3 separate regions of the Homo sapiens genome follow, and all the other regions are linked to region 2. Evidence: promoter capture Hi-C in 16 types of primary human blood cells and fetal thymus (Javierre and others, 2016). All regions are on one chromosome and are shown on one strand. The core of a region is centred on a gene start or on the middle of the fragment in contact, and the rest is flanking DNA. Distances in the headings are between cores, read along the strand shown.

Region 1 (3,031 bases), core at 73-2,572, 940 kb before region 2:
GCGGTTTTTTCCATCTTAGTAAATAGAATGTACGTCGGGTTTTACACCGAGACATTCCATTCCCAGGGATGAGCAGGAGACAGATGCCGTCCTCTTATCTCAACTGCAAAGAGGCCTTCCTCTTTCACTAATCCTCCTCAGCACAGACCCTTTACTGGTGTCAGGCTGGGAGACGGTCAGGTCTTTACCTTCCCACGAGGCCATATCTCAGGCTGTCTCAGTGGGGAGAAACCTTGGACAATACCCAGGCTTTCTTGGGCAGAGGTCCCTGCGGCCTTCCGCAGTGCATTGTGTCCCTGGGTACTTGAGACTGGAAAATGGCGGTGACTTTTACCAAGCATACTGCCTGCAAACACATTTTTAACAAAGCACACCCTGCGTAGCCCTAAATCCATTAAACCTTGAGTCAACACAACACATGTTTCTGCCAGCACAGGGTTGGGGCTAGGGTTACAGATTAACATCATCTAAAGGCAGAAGAATTTTTCTTAGTTCAGAACAAAATGGAGTTTCTTATGTCTTCTTCTTTCTGCATAGACAACAGTAACAGTCTGATCTCTCTTTCTTTCGTCCACATCAGCATTTTGAAAACATGATTTTTCATAAAAATATCTGGATTTTTGTCTCCTGAAAGGTCAGAAGATCTAGCAACACAGCAACACCAGGCCCATGTTCCATCTGGCAAACAGTGGCTGCTGAGTAGCCTTTTAGAGGGCAATGTTCTCTGTTACTCAGAAGGTCCTCTGCCAGTTACTAACATTAGAGTAGAATTGGGAGGAAAAAGAAATAGTTCTTGCATTCTTATCTGTCAAAACTGTGCAAATGAAAGCTTAACTAAGGGCTGTATATTTCAAGAAAAAAATGATCATGTTTCTTTGTGAAAGTAGAGAATGTTCCATGAACTTAATATGCAAACAAAGTCAGAAGAACGCTGTTCTGCCTGGCCTTCGTAGGTAATTGAGTTTAACATCTGACTTATACCAAAGGTAGGTGCTCTGTGGACTGGGCCCCATTCCAGAGGGAAAATTTTAAAGCTATTTTCCTGAGGGTTAGTGAGATGTATAATGGGAAAGGAGGAGGGGAGGAAGGACAGAGGAGACATTCCAGGGAAAGACCGGAGTGTGGAAAAGGGAGAGCTTGACTAAGAAAGGATTTACTTTCCTTAGAGAGAGGGTGGAGGCTCTCCTATCAGAAAAAGTGTTTTCATACAGCTATAAGGGTCGGAGAGAACCTTGAAGTCCTTACAGTAATCTGAGGGACAGGAAAGAATGGATTTCAGGCATTTCCAGAGGGCTGTGACTCTGGGATGACTCACATCTTCTCTTCTGTCTTTACTGCTTTGACAGAAGAATAAAATGAACAGATTAGCAATGGGCATTTGGAAAAACAACAGTGCACCATGATGCCTGTCTCTCTCACTAGATTGTGAACTCCTAAAGGTTTGACTATATTTTATTAATGAATATTTGTGACCTGTTACACATAGTGGGCATGAGGACTACGTTGTACAAAGTATTAGAGAAACATTGGGTCGCCTTCCTGCAGCCACAACAGCAAAGTTTCTTGTTTGTCCACAGCTGGGAGTAAAAGAGCAAGATGTCTCTAGTTATACAGTCATGTGATACAACATTGGACCACATATACTACGGTGGTCTCATAAGATGATAATGGAGCTGAAAAATTCCTTTCGCATAGTGATGTCTTGAGGATCCTGACCCTGTGAAGCCCTAGGCTAATGTGTGCATTTATGTCTTTGTTTTTAAGTTTAAAAAGTTTCAAAAGACAATAACCTTTTAGAATTATAAAAAAGCTTATAGAATAAGAATATAAAAAAGAAAATACAGTATTTTGTATAGCTATACAATGTGTTTGTGTTTTAAGCTAAGTGTTATTACAGAAGAGTCAAAACATTAAAACAATTTTAAAGTTTATAAAGTAAAAAAGTTATAGTAAGGTAAGGTTAATTTGTTATTGAAGAAAGAAATTTTTACACATGAATTTAGTGTAGCCTAAGTGTACAGTGTTTATAAAGTCTACAGTACATTCATTCACCACTCACTCACTGTCTCACCCATGGCAACTTCCAGTCCTGCAAGCTATATTCATGGTAAATGCCCTATATAGGTGTACCATTTTTTATCCTTTTTTTTTTCATTTTTTTTTTTTAAGACAGGGCCTTGCTCTGTCACCCAGGCTGGAGTGCAGTGGTGTGATCATAGCTCACTGCAGCCTCAAGCTCCTGGGCTCAAGCAGTCCTCTCACTTCAGCCTCCTGAGTAGCTGGGACTACAGGCACATGCCACCATACCTGGGCAATTGTTTTATTTTTGGTAGAGACGGGGTCTTCCTAACCTGTGTTGCCCAGGCTGGTCTGAAATTCCTGGGCTTAAGTAGTCCTCCCACCTTAGCCTCCCAAAGGGCTGGGATTACAGGCTTGAGCCATATTTACCATGGTGTTATAATTGCCTACAGTATTCAGTATAGTAATGTGCTGTGCAGGTTTGAGGCGTAGGAGCAATAAGCTATACCATGTAGCCTAGGTATGTAGTAGACTATACCATCTAGGTTTGTGTAAGTGCACTCCATAATGTTCACACAATGACAAAATTGCCTAATGACACATTTCTCAGAACATATCCCCATCGTTAAGTGATGCATGACTGTAATTAGAGCTAGGTAAAAATCCCTGTACCAATGGGAGGAGACATATAAAACTAAAATTAATGTTAGGATGGTGAGATTGTGTTTTTTTTCAACTCTATAAACTTTCTTGTTAGATTTGATTGTCTTTTCAGAAATAAAGAAAGCTTGGGCACAGTAACCTGTACATATCATTAAGGCAGTCCTGTCAACCTTCAGTGAGTGGGGCTGATAATCTCTCCACTGCTTTTCTTTATCATCGTAATAGTTCGTTTTCATGATGCTGGTAAAGATATACCTGAAACTGGGTGATTTATACAGGAAAGAGGTTTAATGGACTTATAGTTCCACATGGCTGGGGAGGCCTCACAATCATGGCAGAAGGCAAGGAG
Region 2 (3,042 bases), core at 438-2,937:
GGAAAGAAAATACACAGTCTACAAATATAACTAGGCAGCCCCAGAAAGAGATGGAAATGAATACAAGCTTCAGTATCTACAAATTTAAATTTAAAATGAGGTGAGTGGATTTATCTCTTACAGGCACTTCTCCGTACCCAACACAGTAAGTAGAAAGGGGAGGATTTTATTAAAAACAGGAGACGGGTATTAAAAGGATTCAGAATGAAAGGTAATAAGTCAATTGTTTTTGTTCTCAAAAACTTCTATCATTCTTCCAATAAAAATCCCTCAGCCAGGCGAGTGTTTTCTCTTCCCCTTGTTTATGTATTATTTTATGTGAGCAACAACTCTACAATTTCAGTGCTTCTGGAATCCATAAGGCATCCATAAAAATGAAAATAGTGTTGGTGCTTTGCAGAAATAAGCAAAACAGGAAACTTAATTTCTATTTTAATATAACAAACAGCAAATCGCCTAGACTGAAGAAGCATCTTTTCAGTCATCAATTGTCACACATCTTTGAAGAAATTCCCTGGGAGGAAAGAATGGCTTTTCCAAGTACGGTGACAGCAGTCCCTCGACTTACAAGCTTTCTCTGCTCCTCAAAAAACTCCAGAAGTGCCTGGGATTAACAGAAACTCCGTAAAACTTAAGGAGTGCTTTAGGGACAAAGCACTCTTCCCGCCTTGAAAATACAGCATTTACCTTCCCGTCACTAAGGGGCATTACCAAAAACTACTACACACACTACATCTAAGACACCCTCTCCACCAAACCAATTGAAAAAGTGCTTCATAACACACATACACACACGCCCCCCAAGTTTCCAAAAACAGCGGCCCGAGTGTACTTGGGATCAAACGCTGTGCGAGAAATGTCCAGGAGAACTACTGCTTATACATTACTCTTACCTTCATGACCACTCACGTTTTAAAATCGCACGTCCGGAACGCATCACATCCGACGTGCTTTATCCCCTTACCACACTAAGAACGCAAAGACTGGCGGCAAATCGGAGCAACTTACTTACCATCAATCTGAACACCCACCCCAAACCCTGCACCGTCTCCAAGGGGTAGAGGAACTGAGTACAAAGGCACTTGGTGGTTCCCTCTACCTTGGCACCTCTCTCTCTCCCACTGAGTCTCTGTAAATTCCAAAATACACCATGAAAATCTCCGCACAGAGCACTACCAGACCAGTCAGATGGAGAGTCGAGAAGTAATCGGTTTGTCCCTTCCACGGGGGCCTTGGAAACCCGGACCCTAAAAGCCAAAATGACCAGGGGGTGTGACCTGGGCTGCTCCCTCCCATTTACTCCCCTCACGGGAACTCCCTTGTCGTCGCGGCTACTCACCAGACCAGAGAGCACAGAAAGAGGCAGGAGACCAGGGCCAAGGCCCGCCGGTGCTTCTTCATCTTCTCCTCCTTCTTCCCCCTGCCAGAAGGCGGCACATCCTCCCGGCAGCCGCCACTGCCGAGGCCAAGATGGAGGAGCCGGAGCAGGAGCGCGAGAATGTGACCGATAGTCCTAAGGGCTATGGCGCTGGCTGAGCGGCTCCTCAGTGGCTCGCGTCCTGGCAGCCCTCTCTGAGGGCCCCACAGAGGCGCGGACAGGGGCGCTTCACAGGACTCCGGGGACCGCCGCCGCTGCAGCCACCGGCTCGTCCACGCCCGCCTCCTGCAGCCGCCACTGCCGCCCCATATCCTCCCCGCCCGCCGGGGGCCTTGCTCCGTGAGGCCAGCGACCAACGGCCGCCGCGTACTCGCCTCTCAACAGCCAATCGCCGGCGGGGCCGCGACACCTCACACACCGCTGAGCTGGAAAGGGACGCGTCACCCAAGTCCCGCGGCGCCCGCACCCCCACCAGCCTCTGCGCAGGCCACGCCCCCTTCGACGTCGCAGGCGGAGAAGCCGGAGGCAGGAGACCACAAAGCGCAGGAGCAGATGCTCTCGCCGCTCCGCCCGCCCCAGGTCCCGCCCACTTGCTGGCTTGCGTTCAGAAAGCCGGGAGGAGCCCAGTGATCCTCAGCATTTCCCCTTACAGTGGACCGCCCTTCGTCCCTCGCGCGCTGAGTCCGCGCAAGGGCCTTTGGGAGTTGTAGTTTGCCTTCCAGAATTCGTTTTTCTCTTTCCCAGTCCCTCCTAGAATCCATGGTTTTGTTAGAGAAGTCTATAGTTTCGCTGCTCACCACGAGACTGATCAGCTTTGGAACTGTTGCACTGTTTTCCTCTTTTGAGCACAGTTCGTGGAATGGCCTAGAATGACGTGTGTGTTGTGAGGGAAGCTGCACCAAGCCCTTTCCCTGTGGCAATGGACTGCCCCATTGAGCTAGATGTTGATTGGTAGATAGAAAGGGGCGTGCCAAGAATCCTCTCATCTGATTGGTTGCAGCGGAAAACCTTTCGCTTTTTCTTCTCTTCAGCAAGAATTTCGCCGCTTGCCGGGTTCCTCACTTTAAGTGTGCTTCGTTGCTTTTCGTTCTGTTGGTTTCGAACTTTGGGTTCTCTGCGATGGAGTCGGAAGGGAGGAGTTGTCCCCATTAGAGGAGCACCCACAGACGCTCCAAGTCCTGGGGTTCACCTAAAGTGGGGAAGGCAGTCGCTTACACTCACCTAAGAAGAGCAAAAAGTGACCACTTCTCAATACTAAGTAACGGGGCAGCATGCCCATTCCAAGTGTTTACGCCGCTGAGGGGACGGAGGCTGCAATGGTCTGTGCCTTGGAACATGGCATAATGTTTAGTGTGAAAAATGTTTAAAGGACGGGTTACTTATTGTTCATGTGGCCGTAGGGAAAAAACCCTCAGTAAAATGCCCACCTAACGCCTAATTTTGAGCCGCGGAATTTCCTTATGAACCTTCTAAGTTGAATTGGATGTTAATTATAGTCCCAAAGAACTGAATGATTTGATCCGCTCTGTGATTCTTGGATATAAGTCAATTTGATGTTAGAGAAATTATACAAAGGGTGATAATTTTTGTTTTAAAGGAGTTCACCCTGAACTGCCTTTTCTGGCAGTAATTAGGTACAGTTCCACTTATCTGCTGATGCCACT
Region 3 (2,918 bases), core at 135-2,634, 760 kb after region 2:
AATTTGTTACAGTAGTGATAGGAAACTAATACGGAACATAAACAGAAGAGAGAAAGAGAGAGAGAGAGTATGTGTGGTTGGGGCAGAAGGTCACAGTGGGGAGAAAGCAGCAGAAGATACAACTAGAGGCTGAGGTAAAGGGCAGGTTTTGAGGAGTCTTCTATTCCACATATTTAGCTTCAGCCTGTCAGGCCACAGGAAGTCAACAGAGAAGCAGAGTCATGACAGAAAGACCTGATCTGAGAGATGTTCTCAGGAAAGACTGAGGCACTTGATGACTGATTGAATAGGGGGAATAAAAGACTGAGGGACTCATAAATGACTCCTACATCGGCCTCTGGATGACTGAAGAAATAGTCTGTAGAAAGAAACGGGGAAGGAGAAAGGGGTATTATTTGTAGAACTGTTGCTAGAAAAGAATTTAGAGGTTATCACTCCAGTAAAAACCAGAGCCAGAGCTAAAAGCCAGTCTCCCCACCCTGCATGCCTACCCCAGGGCTCATACCCTTCTCACTTCCTGTCAGTGGTATCCAGTTGGAGTTGGTAGGTCCAACACATGAAAATGTTTCACGAGTGGGATATAAAATTAAGTAAAGGGAATGTCTCTTTGGTGTACAGGGAGTGGCTCATATAATGCTGGAAACTATTTCAAATTGGAAATCATCTTAGCAAATGGGTTTGTTTTCCACATTTGAGAAGTTTAAAAATGAATGTTCTCCTGTATCTTGGGATAATAGAAGGCAGACACAATAACATCCTAGGGTAACATTCTGCCATTTTATTAGCTGAGTGTCAACACTTTTCTTGACGATATTGTTGACCTGAAAAGTGACTATCAAGCTGATATTGGATTCCTAAGATTGGGATGATGATAATAGCTACTTATTTATTTATTTATTTGTTTGTTTGTTTGTTTATATAAGACAGGGTCTCACTGTGTCACCCAGGCTGGAGTGCAGTGGTGCAGTCACAGCTTACTGCAGCCTCGACTTCATGGGCTCAAGTGATCCTTCCACCTCAGTCTCCCAAGTAGCTGGGACTACAGGTACGAGCCTCCATGCCTGGCTAATTTAAAAAAATATATATTTTTGTAGAGACAGGCTCTCCCTATGTTGCCCAGGCTGGTCTCAAACTGCTGACTTCAAGGGATCCTCCCACCTCAGTCTCTCAAAGCGGTAGGATTACAGGTGTAAGCCACCATGCCCAGTGCATCATAGTATTTTTTAGTTTGTATAGCACTTGTGATTGGCCAAGAATTTTTCTCATACACTGAATCCATGGGAAGGAGAGGCTCAGAGCTACAGAGTTAATTTTCACATTGGCAGAGAATCCCTTTGGGTGAATGTGCCAGCCTTGTACAAGATTAACAAATTCGTTTCAACATAGATGATTACACACTGCTTTCTTAAATATATATACCTATACATATATAATTAAGGCAAAATTCCAATTGATTACAAGTAAGTGAAAAAAAAAAGTTATATATGACTGAGCGAATTGAGCCGTGACTGCCTCTGGTATTGTATTTGATTCCCAGGATTTTCTTTGTGCAGTAGTTTCCTACTCTGTCACTAAGGGCGTCTGTTGATGGATTGGTTTCCTCATATGCATGGACTGCAAGGCATTAATATAGGGCATATTATACATTGCAAGTTGTTTGCCTTTGGGGCCAGTAGGCAATAACATTTTGAAAGCTGCAAGACTGGGGAGATGAAGGAATGATGCCAAGGTTAACAGGCTGTGCATGAATACATTTGACCCCTATATGAGGGGGCTCACAAAGCCTCCTTTTGACTGTCTTTGTTTTCTACAGCCTGGATACTGGGAAAAACCACAAGGGTAAGCTATTAGACTGTTTTCTTCATAATTTTATTCCAAACTTCAGTTTCTTTGCAGGAAAAGAAAAACTTGAAAAACATTTTGTTTTTCTCCTACACTCTAGCACTCTAACCCATGACCATCTCATGTATCCCATTTTTATAGATGCTCTCTGTCCTCAGCCCATAACAATATTTTTCTACCACTAAGGGAATGGATTTTAAAACAGCATTTAATAAATAAAATTCACTTGAGTACTCCACCCAGAGGATTTTTTAACGTTCAGATCCAGAGTCCTCAAAGAAACCAGAAAAACAAAACTCCCTTTAGTCCAACAAAAAAGTTATAGTATGTAATACTTCTCTAAAACTAAAACTGTTTTCTTGCCATGGGGCTGCACGAATGACCTTTTCCTAAGAAGAATCACAAATTATGGTGCCAAAACATTTTACTGTTCTTAATTCATCTCATCTTTGAATAGTATATCTTCATCCTCACTGCTGACATACAGTAGAAAAAAAATTTCCACGTGTCAAAATTTCATCCAAGCAGCAGCTCTGATGTTTTTCATTTTTTTAATTTTTAAAAAATTTTAAACAGTTCATCATGTAAGCTCTGGTGTTTGAAGACTCAAAAGAGAAATGTCCTCAGAGAATATGGTATATTTCTGAAGACAGCTGACAGAAGAGGGAACCCTTAGCTAGAAACTATATAGCACAGAAGTTAAGGTTGGGATTTGGAATCAGAATGATCTAGACATGAGCTACCATGCTGGGCTGATTTTTTTTTAATAAGATTTTTTGAACTGAGATATGCTTCACATAAAATTCACCATCTAAAAGTGTACACTGGGCAGGCATGGTGGCTCACACCTGTAATCCCAGATCTTTGGGAGGCTGAAGCAGGAGGATTACTTGAAGCCAGGAGTTCAAAACCAGCCTGGGTAACATAGGGAGACCCTGTCTCTACAAAACAATTTAAAAATTAGCAGGGCATGATGGTGTATGCATATGATCCCAGCTACTTGGGAAGTTGAGGTGGGAGAATCACCAGAGCCTGGGGCTGGCAGGGTTGGGGGTGGGAGTGGCTCAAAACTGCAG

What was found. Contacts are between HindIII fragments. The CHiCAGO score rates a contact against its expected background, and 5 or more counts as called.
Region 1: a fragment that was not itself captured here is called in contact with the fragment with the promoter of SUCO in region 2 in 3 of 17 cell types (neutrophils, fetal thymus and activated CD4 T cells); the score reaches 9.5 in neutrophils.
Region 3: a fragment that was not itself captured here is called in contact with the fragment with the promoter of SUCO in region 2 in 7 of 17 cell types (neutrophils, total B cells, fetal thymus and 4 more); the score reaches 11.5 in neutrophils.

What each region holds. Positions count from the first base shown.
Region 1 is chr1:173,471,970-173,475,000 of GRCh38, reverse strand. All of the region lies in intron 1 of LOC100506023 (a long non-coding RNA gene), which reads left to right. Among named protein-coding and RNA genes, the nearest start is that of PRDX6, 3.8 kb to the left of the region's middle. The HindIII fragment of the contact is 981 bases long and covers 832-1,812 here.
Region 2 is chr1:172,531,795-172,534,836 of GRCh38, reverse strand. SUCO (SUN domain containing ossification factor) reads right to left here and starts at 1,687. Exons shown (of 24, transcript NM_014283.5): 1 at 1,340-1,687. The coding sequence starts at 1,401. RefSeq lists enhancers at 1,299-1,458, 2,069-2,318, 2,379-2,488 and a silencer at 1,579-1,748. The HindIII fragment of the contact is 4,223 bases long and covers 574-3,042 here.
Region 3 is chr1:171,774,927-171,777,844 of GRCh38, reverse strand. No RefSeq gene overlaps it. Among named protein-coding and RNA genes, the nearest start is that of METTL13, 5.3 kb to the left of the region's middle. The HindIII fragment of the contact is 4,827 bases long and covers 1-2,918 here.